3 separate regions of the Homo sapiens genome follow, and regions 2 and 3 are each linked to region 1. The links are contacts of gene promoters, found by promoter capture Hi-C in blood cells and fetal thymus (Javierre and others, 2016). All regions are on one chromosome and are shown on one strand. The core of a region is centred on a gene start or on the middle of the fragment in contact, and the rest is flanking DNA. Distances in the headings are between cores, read along the strand shown. Region 1 overlaps SETD1A (SET domain containing 1A, histone lysine methyltransferase). Region 2 holds the start of KAT8 (lysine acetyltransferase 8). Region 3 holds the start of PRSS36 (serine protease 36).

Evidence for each region. The method cuts DNA at HindIII sites, captures the fragments that hold promoters and counts their contacts. A CHiCAGO score of 5 or more calls a contact.
Region 2: a contact is called between the fragment with the promoter of KAT8 here and a fragment that was not itself captured in region 1, in 8 of 17 cell types (naive CD4 T cells, M1 macrophages, M2 macrophages and 5 more). The highest score is 7.7, in naive CD4 T cells.
Region 3: the fragment with the promoter of PRSS36 here is called in contact with a fragment that was not itself captured in region 1 in 17 of 17 cell types (M2 macrophages, M0 macrophages, megakaryocytes and 14 more); the score reaches 17.6 in M2 macrophages.

The regions. Positions count from the first base shown.
Region 1 is chr16:30,968,279-30,971,715 of GRCh38, reverse strand. SETD1A (SET domain containing 1A, histone lysine methyltransferase) reads right to left here. Exons shown (of 19, transcript NM_014712.3): 11 at 2,254-2,411; 12 at 2,027-2,114; 13 at 1-338. Among named protein-coding and RNA genes, the nearest start is that of SETD1A, 12 kb to the right of the region's middle. The HindIII fragment of the contact is 6,620 bases long and covers 1-3,437 here.
Region 2 is chr16:31,115,884-31,119,396 of GRCh38, reverse strand. KAT8 (lysine acetyltransferase 8) reads right to left here and starts at 1,733. Exons shown (of 11, transcript NM_032188.3): 1 at 1,505-1,733. The coding sequence starts at 1,715. It also overlaps a transcript of BCKDK not described here. RefSeq lists an enhancer at 1,150-1,269 and silencers at 1,440-1,789, 1,689-1,915. The HindIII fragment of the contact is 10,033 bases long and covers 1-3,513 here.
Region 3 is chr16:31,148,407-31,151,974 of GRCh38, reverse strand. PRSS36 (serine protease 36) reads left to right here and starts at 1,909. Exons shown (of 15, transcript NM_173502.5): 1 at 1,909-1,976; 2 at 2,244-2,279; 3 at 2,477-2,512; 4 at 2,740-2,902; 5 at 3,300-3,568. The coding sequence starts at 1,940. RefSeq lists enhancers at 1,665-2,201, 2,202-2,737, 2,738-3,275. The HindIII fragment of the contact is 9,446 bases long and covers 1-3,568 here.

The DNA of each region.
Region 1 (3,437 bases), core at 509-3,008:
AGGCCTTGCTGGAGACGCCTCCTGTTCGGGCAGGGGTGTGACTGGGGAGCCTGCAACCCTTTCCGGCACTGGCACCTCCACAGGTGCTGGCGTGGGCACTGGGACTTCTCTGGGGGGCGGGGAGGCTGAGGGAAGGGCTGCTGGCCGCTCCTCTTCCTCTTCATCTTCAGAGGAGGACTCAGAGGATGAAGAGGACGAGGAGGATGAGGACGAGGAGGAGGAGGAGGATGAGGAGCTGGAAGAGCTGCTGCTCTCGGAGTCTGATGTGCTGTCATTTTCGCCATCTGAGTCAGCATACAGAGAACATTTGGAAGACGAATCGCTTTCCTCGTCCTCGCCTGGAAATCCAGAAGGGGCAGTCAGGAGAGGTGGGCAGACCTCACTTGGCCAGCCGTGGGCTCCTCACTCACTCCCTGCTGTGGATGCTGGGCTCTGGGCTAGGGACGGGGAAGTCCAACAGACCAAGGAGCTGCATAAGCAAACCATTTTCACTGTGAGATAAACATCAGCATGCGGGGAGGATGGCAAAGGAAGCCCCAGACTCTGTCTGAAGAGGCCCGAAAAGGAAAGCATCCCAGGGGACAAGCTGAACTCAAGGACAAGGAGTCCACCACACAGACATGGGGACTGCACAGGGATGTCGGAAGCAAGAGGAAGTGGAGGCTTGGAGACTGGGAAGCAGGCTGCTCTGGCACTCAAACCTTCCTAAAGTGGGTCTCAGGACCCAGTCTGGACGAAGGATTGGGTGAAAAAGGATTCTGGGCTGAAAAGGTTAAAAAACACGACAGGCTCTATATTCTGAGACTGCTCATGTACGGGAAGGACTCGAAAAAACTGAAGAATTTCACAGTTTTTGAGGAACAGAATTGGATAAGTTAGACTAGAAGGTGGTGGCAGCTGGGGAGCGGACTGGAGGAGGGCGAGATGGAGCTGAACAGAGCAGGGCCAGGAGATAAACGGCCCATGGTGTTGGCCTGGGGGGACACCCTGTGGAGAACAAGTTGCCAGGAAGGACCTTATGGAGGGAAGTCACAGGGTCAGGAGTGCATTTTAGGAAAGAGATTCTATAAGCAGTTTGGAAAATGGACTGGAACAGAGGGAGAAGGACAGAAAGAGAGACAGGGAAATCAGTCAAGACTGCTGCAAGAGGCTGCGTGCAGTGGCTCACAGGTGAAAGCCTAGCACTTTGGGAGGCCGAGGTGGGTGGATCACTTGAGGTCATGAGTTTGGGACCAGCCTGGCCAACATGGTAAAACCCCATCTCTGCTAAAAATACAAAAATTAGCCAGGTGTGGTGGCTCACACCTGTAATCCCAGCGCTTTGGGAGGCTGAGGCAGGAAAATCGCTGGAACCAGGGAGGCGGAGGTTGCAGTGAGCCAAGATCACATCACTGCACTCCAGCCTGGGTGACAAAGCGAGACTCTGTCTCAAAAAAAAAAAAAAAAAATCTGGGTGTGGTGGCTCACGCCTGTAATCCCAGCACTTCCAGAGGCTGAGGTGGGTGGATCGCCTGAGCTCAGGAGTTCAAGACCAGTCTGGCCAACATAGTGAAACCCTGTCTCTACTAAAAATACAAAAAATTAGCTGGGGGTGGTGGTGGGTGCCTGTAATCCCAGCTACAACGGAGGCTGAGGCAGGAGAATCTCTTGAACTCAGGAGGCGGAGGTTGCAGTGAGCCGAGATTGCGCCATTGCACTCCAGCCTGGGCGACAAGAGCGAAACTCTCTCAAAACAACAACAACAACAACAACAAAAAACAAAACAAAAAAAGCGTTCTGCCAGGCTGTCCTTTTGGACAGCTATGTCTCAGCAGAAGAGGGAGCAGGAGGGAGCATTTTGAGCACTGAGCTTATTGCTGTCAAGGGGCCAAGGGTTCCTAAGAATGTGGCCCAAACAGATGCCCTTGCAGAAGGCAAAGGTGACCCACAAGCCCAGCAGGAAGGTCATGTGGGCTCAGAAAAGGGCTAGCCAGGCAGCCGAACCCCTCCTCCGAGCCCAAAGTCGATTTCACTGTCTTGTGCTCACCATCCGACACCTCTGTCTCCTTCTTTGTGGTATCCACAGCTTCCTCTCGATCTTCATCTTCCTCATCTTCCTCGTCATCCTCCTCATCCTTAAGAAAAAAGACAAATGAGGACTAACAGGAAGGGGACAACTGGTCCTACACCAGGCACAGCTGCCTGGGCTCCAACCACAAAGATGCTGGCTATGGGAAGTAGGCTTCGGCCAGGAGCCGGCGCCCGGGCCCTCACCTTCTCCGAGGAGGACTCCTGGGATGCCTCCTCCCCTTCGCTGTCCAGAGCAAAGGACTTGCGGTGCTTGCCCTGGGTCTTGCCTCGCTCTTCGTCCCGCTTCGGGGGCTTGGTCCCCGGACGTCCTGGCTCTCCAGCCTCCTTCTCTTGTTCAGGGTCTAGGCCAGCAGAGTGGTAGTTGGGGAAATTTACCATCAACCACAAGATACTTGCCCTGTGCAAGGGGCTTTACATATACTATTACCAATCTTCCTGATGGTCTTCATTTCACAGATGAGAATTTGGAAGCTCACCAGAGGAACTCAAACACCTCAGTTACCTCATGTTTCATAGTTTTGTATTTGTTTTTGTTTTTGGGACGGGGTCTTGCTCTGTCACTCAGGCTGGGGTGCAGTGGCATGACCACAGCTCACTGCAGCCTCAACCTGCTGGGCTCAAGCGATCCTCCTGCCTCGGTCTCCTGAGTAACTGGGACTATACAGGGGCATGCAATCATACCCAGCTAATTTTTAAAAATTTTTGTAGAGACAGGGTCTACCTATGTTGCTCAGGCTGGTATTGAACTCCTGGGTTCAAGTGATCCTCCTGCCTCAGCCTCCTGGAGTGCTGGGATTATAGGCGTGAGCCATCGTGCCTGGCATATATATATATATTTTTTTTTTTGAGACGGAGTCTCGCTTTGTCGCCAGGCTGGAGTGCAGTGGCACAATCTCAGCTCACAGCAGCCTCTGCCTCCCGGGTTCAAGCAATTCTCCTGCCTCAGTCTCCCAAGTAGCTGGGACTATAGGCACCCGCCACCACGCCTGGCTAATTTTTCTATTGTTAGTAGAGACGGGGTTTCACCATGTTGGCCAGGATGGTCTCGATCTCTTGACCTTGTGATCCACCCGCCTCGGCCTCCCAAAGTGCTGGGATTACAGGTGAGCTCCACCCTGCCTGGCCTTAATATATACAGATACGCATATGTGTGTGTATATATATATGTGTGTGTGTATATATTTGTGTGTATATACATATGTGTGTGTACATATATATATATATATGTATTTTTTTTTTTTTTGAGACACAGTCTCGTGCTATCACCCAGGCTGAAGTGCAGTGGCATAATCTTGGCTCACTGTAACCTCCACCTCCTGGGTTCAAGTGATTCTCGTGCCTCTGCCTCCCAAGTAGCTGGGATTACA
Region 2 (3,513 bases), core at 484-2,983, 150 kb before region 1:
GTGGGTGAATCACGAGGTTAAGAGGTCAAAACCATCCTGGCCAACATGGTGAAACTTCGTCTCTACTAAAAATACAAAAATTAGCTGGGTGTGGTGGCGCACAACTGTAGTCCCAGCTACTCAGGAGGTTGAGGCAGGAGAATCGCTTGAATCCGGGAGGCAGAGATCGCAGTGAGCCAAGATGGCGCCACTGCACTCCAGCCTGGCAACAGAGAGCGATTCCATCTCAAACAAACAAACAAAAAAAAATACACAAAATTCCAGCTCCCTACTTCCTAGCTATGTGTAACTGAGCAAGTTATTCCATCTTTCTGAGCCTCAGTCTCTTCATCTGTGAAAAGGGATAACAGCTGGGCACAGTGGCTCATGCCAGTAATCCCAACACTCTGAGAGGGTGAGGTGGGAGGATCACTTGAGCCTAGAAGGTCTAGGCTTCAGTGAGCTGTCATCGTGCCACGGCAATCCCACCTGGGTGACAGAGCGAGATCCTGTCTCAAAAAAAAAAAAAAAAAAAAAGACAAAAGGGATAATAGTACCAACCTTAGAAGGTGAATTAATGCCTCCAAAATTTTTAGCAGCGCACCTGACAATTAGCAGAGCATTCAATAAATGAGTAAGGCAACCACTACGTGTCTGGCCCTATGCTGTGTTGTTGCCGGGTACAGAGGACACAGTGATGAATCACAAGAAGTGCTGCCCTCCAGAAGTTCCCAGTATGATGGAGGAAGACAGAGAGAGAAAATTACAACATAATGTTACAAAAACTATGACTGAGGTAGGAAAAAAATGTTGCAGGAACATAGAGAAGGGAACCACTCACTTTGCCTGAAGGGGAATCAAGGATGACATCACAAAGGATATGAAGCTAAGAGGATGAGTAGGAGCTAGGCAGGCAAACAAGGAGAAAGGGAAGAAAAAGCATTCCAAGCAAAGGGCACAGGTGGTAAAGGGCGTGTGGTCTTCAGAGGGCACAGTGTGTTCTGGCCTGGCAATGCCCTTTCCTAGTGTTGGCTAGAAACTGGAGAGGTCACAAAAATGAATGCCACCCTAAGGAGTTTGGGGTTAATTTTGAAAATGAGAGAAGGCAGCAGAACTTTAGGAAAGGGAAGCCTGTTGTTTCTGGAAGGTCTTCTCTCTGCGGATGGCTGCCAGGGACAAATGGAAAAAGAAGACGCAGAGACAAGAGAGGGTGAGGAAGCAGCGTTAGCAAGAAAAAGGAATGAAGCCTAAGACTGGGCAAGGAAGTGGAATGGGAACAATCCTGGTGAAGGCCTGAGCGGTGGGTTTGTAGGCGTCGCTCGGCATAATTCAAGGTCAACAGCCTCCCACAACCCGGCTGGTTTCTCAGCGCCCGGAACGCGGCGTTCTTTCCTCAAGCCCCGCCCCTCCTCCTCTCCACTCCCAGCCCCCGGATCTTGGCCTCACTGACAGCCTGTCCTCAGGCCCCGCCCCACCCCCTGGCCCTGAGCTCCGCCCCGCCCCCAGCCCTGGGCCCCGCCCTCACGCCAGGTGCTATCCGGTCGCCGGCACAGGTACGTTTCTCCGATCTCCACCGTGACTTCCGGCTCGCCGCGCGCCGGGGTCGGCGGAGAGACGCGGCCCGGGGATGGGGCGGTCCCCTCAGCGGCCGCATTCTCCCCGGGCCCGGGCTCGCCCTCCCCCGCGACCCCTGAAGTCCCCGCCGCAACCGCCGCAGCAGCTCCCTGTGCCGCCATCGCGGGAAGGGAAGTGACGCCAGAATCGGACGCCACGCAGTTCTTTTGGCTCCGGGTCAGCAGTGCGTGGGGCGGGCTCCTCAAGGTTTGAGGGCGGGGTCTGTGATGTAGCAGGAGCCGATTGGCTTCTGTGGCCGTCCCCGCGGCCCCGCGAGTTGGATGTTGAGTGTGCGGCAGTCTTGGAGCTCCTGGTTTTCCGTGCGGACCTGTGGCTGCAGCCTATGGGTGAGGAGAGGAGACAGACTTACCTCATGCGATGACTCAACTCAACCTTTTTTTAATTTATTTATTTATTTATTTATTTATTTATTTTGAGACGGAATCATGCTCTGTCGCCCAGGCTGGAGTGCAGAGGCGCGATCTCGGCTCACTGCAACCTCCGCCTCCGGGTTCAAGCGATTCCTCTGCCTCAGCCTCCCGGGTAGCTGGGACTGCAGGCGCGCGCCACCACGCCCATCTAATTTTTGTATTTTTAGTAGAGACGGGGTTTCACCATGTTGTCCAGGATAGTCTTGATCTCTTGACCTCGTGATCTGCCAGCCTCAACCTCCCAAAGTGCTGGGATTATAGGCGTGAGCCACCGTGCCCGGCCAGCTGAACCTTTTTAAAGGCCCTGGTACCTGCGGAAGCCAAGATGTGCCAATTTTCAGCGGGCGCTGCCCCCACTTTAACAGGGCAGAGCCAGAGCGGCCGCCCTGGTGGCCTGGAGCCGCACACTCGCGCTGGCCTAATGTCGCTCCCCGCCCCCCCCCCTTTTTTTTTTTTGAGATGGAGTCTCGCTCTGTCGCCCAGGCTGGAGTGCAGTGACGCGATCTCGGCTCACTGCAGCCTCCGCCTCCCGGGTTCAAGCGATTCTCCTGCCTCAGCCTCCTGAATAGCTGGGATTACAATCGCGCGCCACCACGCCCGGCTATTTTTTGTATTTTTAGTAGAGAGAGGGCTTCACCCTGTTGGCCAGGCTGGTCTCGAACTCCTGACCTCAGGTGATCCGCCCGCCTCGGCCTCCCAAAGTGCTAGGGTTACAGGCGTGAGCCACCGTGCCCAGCCAGTGCCCCATTTTTGAAGGTTGAAGAGACTACTTCCCCTATTTGGGATACAGTTGGTGCGGGGAAAGCAGAACGGGTGTGTCCAGGGACAGGCCATAATTCACCCTCACAGGATAAAGTCTAAAGAAAGGACGAGTTGGGCGGGGCGTGGTGGCTCACGCCTGTAATCTCAGCACTTTGAGAGGCCGAGGCGGGCGGAGATCGAGACCATCCTGGCTAACACCGTGAAACTCCGTCTCTACTAAAAATACAAAATTTAGCCGGGCGTGGTGGCACGCACCTGTAGTCCCAGCTACTCGGGAGGCTGAGGCAGGAGAATCGCTTGAACCCGGGAGGCGGAGGTTGCAGTGAGCCGAGATCCCGCCATTGCACTCCAGCCTGGGGACCAAGAGCCAGACTCCATCTCAAAAAAAATAAAAAGGCCGGGTGCGGTGGTTCACGCCTGTAATCCCAGCACTTTGGGAGGCCTAGGCGGGTGGATCACGAGGTCAGAAGATCGAGACTATTCTGGCTAACACGATGAAACTCCGTCTCTACTAAAAAAAAATACAAAACAATTAGCCGGGCGTGGTGGCGGGCCCCTGTAGTCCCAGCTACTCGGGAGGCTGAGGCAGGAGAATGGTGTGAACCCGGGAGGTGGAGCTTGCAGTGAGCTGAGATCACGCCACTGCACTGAGGGTTCTGTGAGAGTCAGTAAAGGTTAAAGCCATTTATATGTGTATGGTCCAACCATACACAATCGGCCCTCCATA
Region 3 (3,568 bases), core at 660-3,159, 180 kb before region 1:
GAGTTTGAGACCAGCCTGGGCAACATAATAAGACCCCATCTCTACAAAAATAAAAAACATTAGCTGGGTATGGTGGTGCGTGCCTGTAGTCCCAGCTTCTCAGGAGGCTGAGGCCAGAGGATCGCTTAAGCCCAGGAATTCGAGGTTACAGTGAGCTATAATCACAGCACTGCACTCCAGCCTGGGTGACAGAGTGAGACCGTGTCTCTAAAATTTTTTAATTGGTTTAATTAAAAATAGAGAGGATGAGATGAGAGTGAGATGGGGATTTTTCTTTCCCCACTCCCTCTCTGCTGGTAAAGGCTGCATTTCTCTATTGAAGGCCACGGCTCCTAACAGCTATCTCTTCCATAGCTGCAGCTCTTGCTGGGTTCCAGTAACTGCCCCCTCTCTGCCTCTTCAGGCCAGCAGGTAGCAAGGGCTCTCTATTATTGCTGGCCCCAGGATGCGTTACCATCCCTCTTTGGTTTCCTTTTTTTTTTTTTTTTTGTGAGACGGAGTTCGCTCTTGTCACCCAGGCTAGAGTGCAACGGCGCTATCTTGGCTCACTGCAACCTCCACGTCCTGGGTTCAAGCATTTTTATCTGCCTCAGCCTCCCTAATAGGTGGGATTACAGGTGAGTTCCACCACACTCGGCTAATTTTTGTATTTTTAGTATAGATGGGGCTTCTCCAAGTTAGCCAGGCTGGTCTTGAACTCCTGACCTCAGGTGATCTGCCCGCCTCGGCCTACCAAAGTGCTGGGATTACAGCCGTGAGCCACCCAGCCTCTTTGGTTTCCTTTGACCCTGCCTACACTTCTATAAATAGTTTCTTCCTTAAACTCTCTTCAACTCCTCTTTGAAGAGCCATATGTTTCTTTCTTCTTCTTATTCTTCTTTTTTTTTTTCTTTTTGTTGTTGTTGTTGAGACAGGGTCTCGCTTTGTCACCCAGGCTGGAGTGCAGTGGCACAATCATAGCTCACTGCAACCTCGACCTCCCAGGCTCAAGCAATCCTCCCACCTCATCTCCCGAGTAGCTGGGATACAGACGTGCACCACCACGCCCTGCAGTTCATAATTTTTGTATTTTTTAATTTTTTGTAGAGATGGGGTCTTGCTATGTTGACCAGGCTGGTCTTGAACTCCTAGCCTCAAGCAATCCTCCCACCTCAGTCTCCCAGAGTGTTAGGATCACAGGAGTGAGCCACCGTGCTCGGCCAAGTCATATGTCCCTTAAACTGGCTCTTACTGATACACACCAAGAGGTTGGGTTACTTTCCCAAAGTCACACAGAGTAAGTGACAGGGCAGCTAAGAGCATTGTCACTGGAACACAGAGCAGGGTGGAGGCTTTTTCAGCCTCGCCAGCCTGCCCAGCCCCCTCCCAGGGTCCCTATGCCCTGCCCAACCTGCTGGAATCTGTGATCCTTTTGTTGGGATGGGATTGAATTCCCTAGGGCTCCTGTCCCAGACCTGGCCAGCAGCTCCAGTAACCAGAGCTGTGTGAGAAGAAAAGGCCAAGCCACTGGGGCAGCCGCACCCCAAACAGAGGTGAGGTCTCCGATGAGTCATGCCCGTGAGGGGCCACTTCCCCTGTCCTAAGGGCCACTGCTCACCAAGGACACAGAACACTGTCCTCCTCTTTGACCTTTGCCTGCAGTGTTTTTCATCCCTCCCTCTCCCACCCAACAGGTGTCCAGGAGCTAGGACACCTGTCCTCCACCCCCACCCTGGGCCTCCAGAGACATGAGATGTGCGCAGGGCTCTGGGTGGGGCCTTCAGGCTCCCCAGCTTCCCCCTTCCAGCCCCAGATCCTCTCAGATTCCCAGAGATGGGCTCCAGCCAGGGAGGGTGGGGCTGCCCCTGGGACCATCAGGAGTCACGGGCTGCCTGGGCAGTGACAGAGCCCTGCAGGGAGCAGACCTTCACTTGGCTCTGCCTCCGCTGACTCTAGCGCCATGGCCCGGCACCTGCTCCTCCCCCTTGTGATGCTTGGTAACCTCAGGGGACAAGAGTGGCTGCAAAGGGCCTGGGTCCTGGCATCTGGGGGGCTGGAGAGCAGGATTCCTGGTTTCTGTGTGGGGAGCAGGAAGTCAGAGAGAAGGAAGTGAGGCAGCAGAAGGCGAGGATGTATCAGAGGAGGGAGAGGGAGGCCTGGGTGCCCTGGGGAGACGGAGGCTAGGAGGCTGGGGGAGGGAGTCAGGGAGGGCACATACTGAGTGCGAGTCGCCAGCCTCTTCCTGCCTACCTCTGTCTTTCCAGTCATCAGTCCCATCCCAGGAGCCTTCCAGGACTCAGGTAAGGTAGCCGGACTGGGGGAAAGTCACGTGCAGAGGCAGAAAAGACCAGAGGACTGGCATGGGTGCTGGCAGGGGTTGCTGAACGGACAGGGAAGTGGGAAGATAGGGTCGGGGGTTGGAGAGCAGGAAGTGGGGCTGGGCGGTGCAGGCCTGGAAGTCACAAGTGTCCTCCTCTCTTTCCCCTCTGGCTCCCAGCTCTCAGTCCTACCCAGGAAGAACCTGAAGATCTGGGTAAGGAAGAGGCCTTGGCACCCTCAGACCTTAAAGGAGGCTAAGGCTGGTCAGGCCATGAGGGAGGTGGAAAAGACCAGAAATGTAGACAAGCCTGGGTCCTCTATGTTCTTTGTTCAGAGGGGCAAACTGAAGTGGGTGGAGGACGGGCCTTCGTCCTGAGTTACCTGGGCTTCTGGAGTGGGGAACCCGAGGGGAGCTTTGGCTTCCACGGCTCCCCGTTGCAGACTGCGGGCGCCCTGAGCCCTCGGCCCGCATCGTGGGGGGCTCAAACGCGCAGCCGGGCACCTGGCCTTGGCAAGTGAGCCTGCACCATGGAGGTGGCCACATCTGCGGGGGCTCCCTCATCGCCCCCTCCTGGGTCCTCTCCGCTGCTCACTGTTTCATGACGTGAGTATTCGCCCTGGTCCTGGCCCCTCTCCGCCAAAAGCTGGCCCCCGCCCCCGCAGTTGGTCCCCTCCTCCCGCCCCACTTCCGTCCTCAAGGATAATTTGGAGCCAAGCTGTCCCCAAAGCGAGGTGCTATTCGAGGCATCATGGTTCCGAGTGGGGCAAGGCTGCCGGACTGGTCCCACCACTCCACTCAATATCCGGGTCTGAATCCCATCTTTCCAATGACCCCCCCACCACCAGCTCCAAATCGGATTTGCTCTTCCCCTTTGAGGAGTATCAGCACCAAATCTGGATCGGATAGCACCTGCCCCTCTGGCTCTGAGCCCCTGCCCCCAACGAGGGTCTGCCCCCTCCATAGGGTCAACCTAACCTCCTACTGCCCCGGTCGAGCGCAGGAATGGGACGCTGGAGCCCGCGGCCGAGTGGTCGGTACTGCTGGGCGTGCACTCCCAGGACGGGCCCCTGGACGGCGCGCACACCCGCGCAGTGGCCGCCATCGTGGTGCCGGCCAACTACAGCCAAGTGGAGCTGGGCGCCGACCTGGCCCTGCTGCGCCTGGCCTCACCCGCCAGCCTGGGCCCCGCCGTGTGGCCTGTCTGCCTGCCCCGCGCCTCACACCGCTTCGTGCACGGCACCGCCTGCTGGGCCACCGGCTGGGGAGACG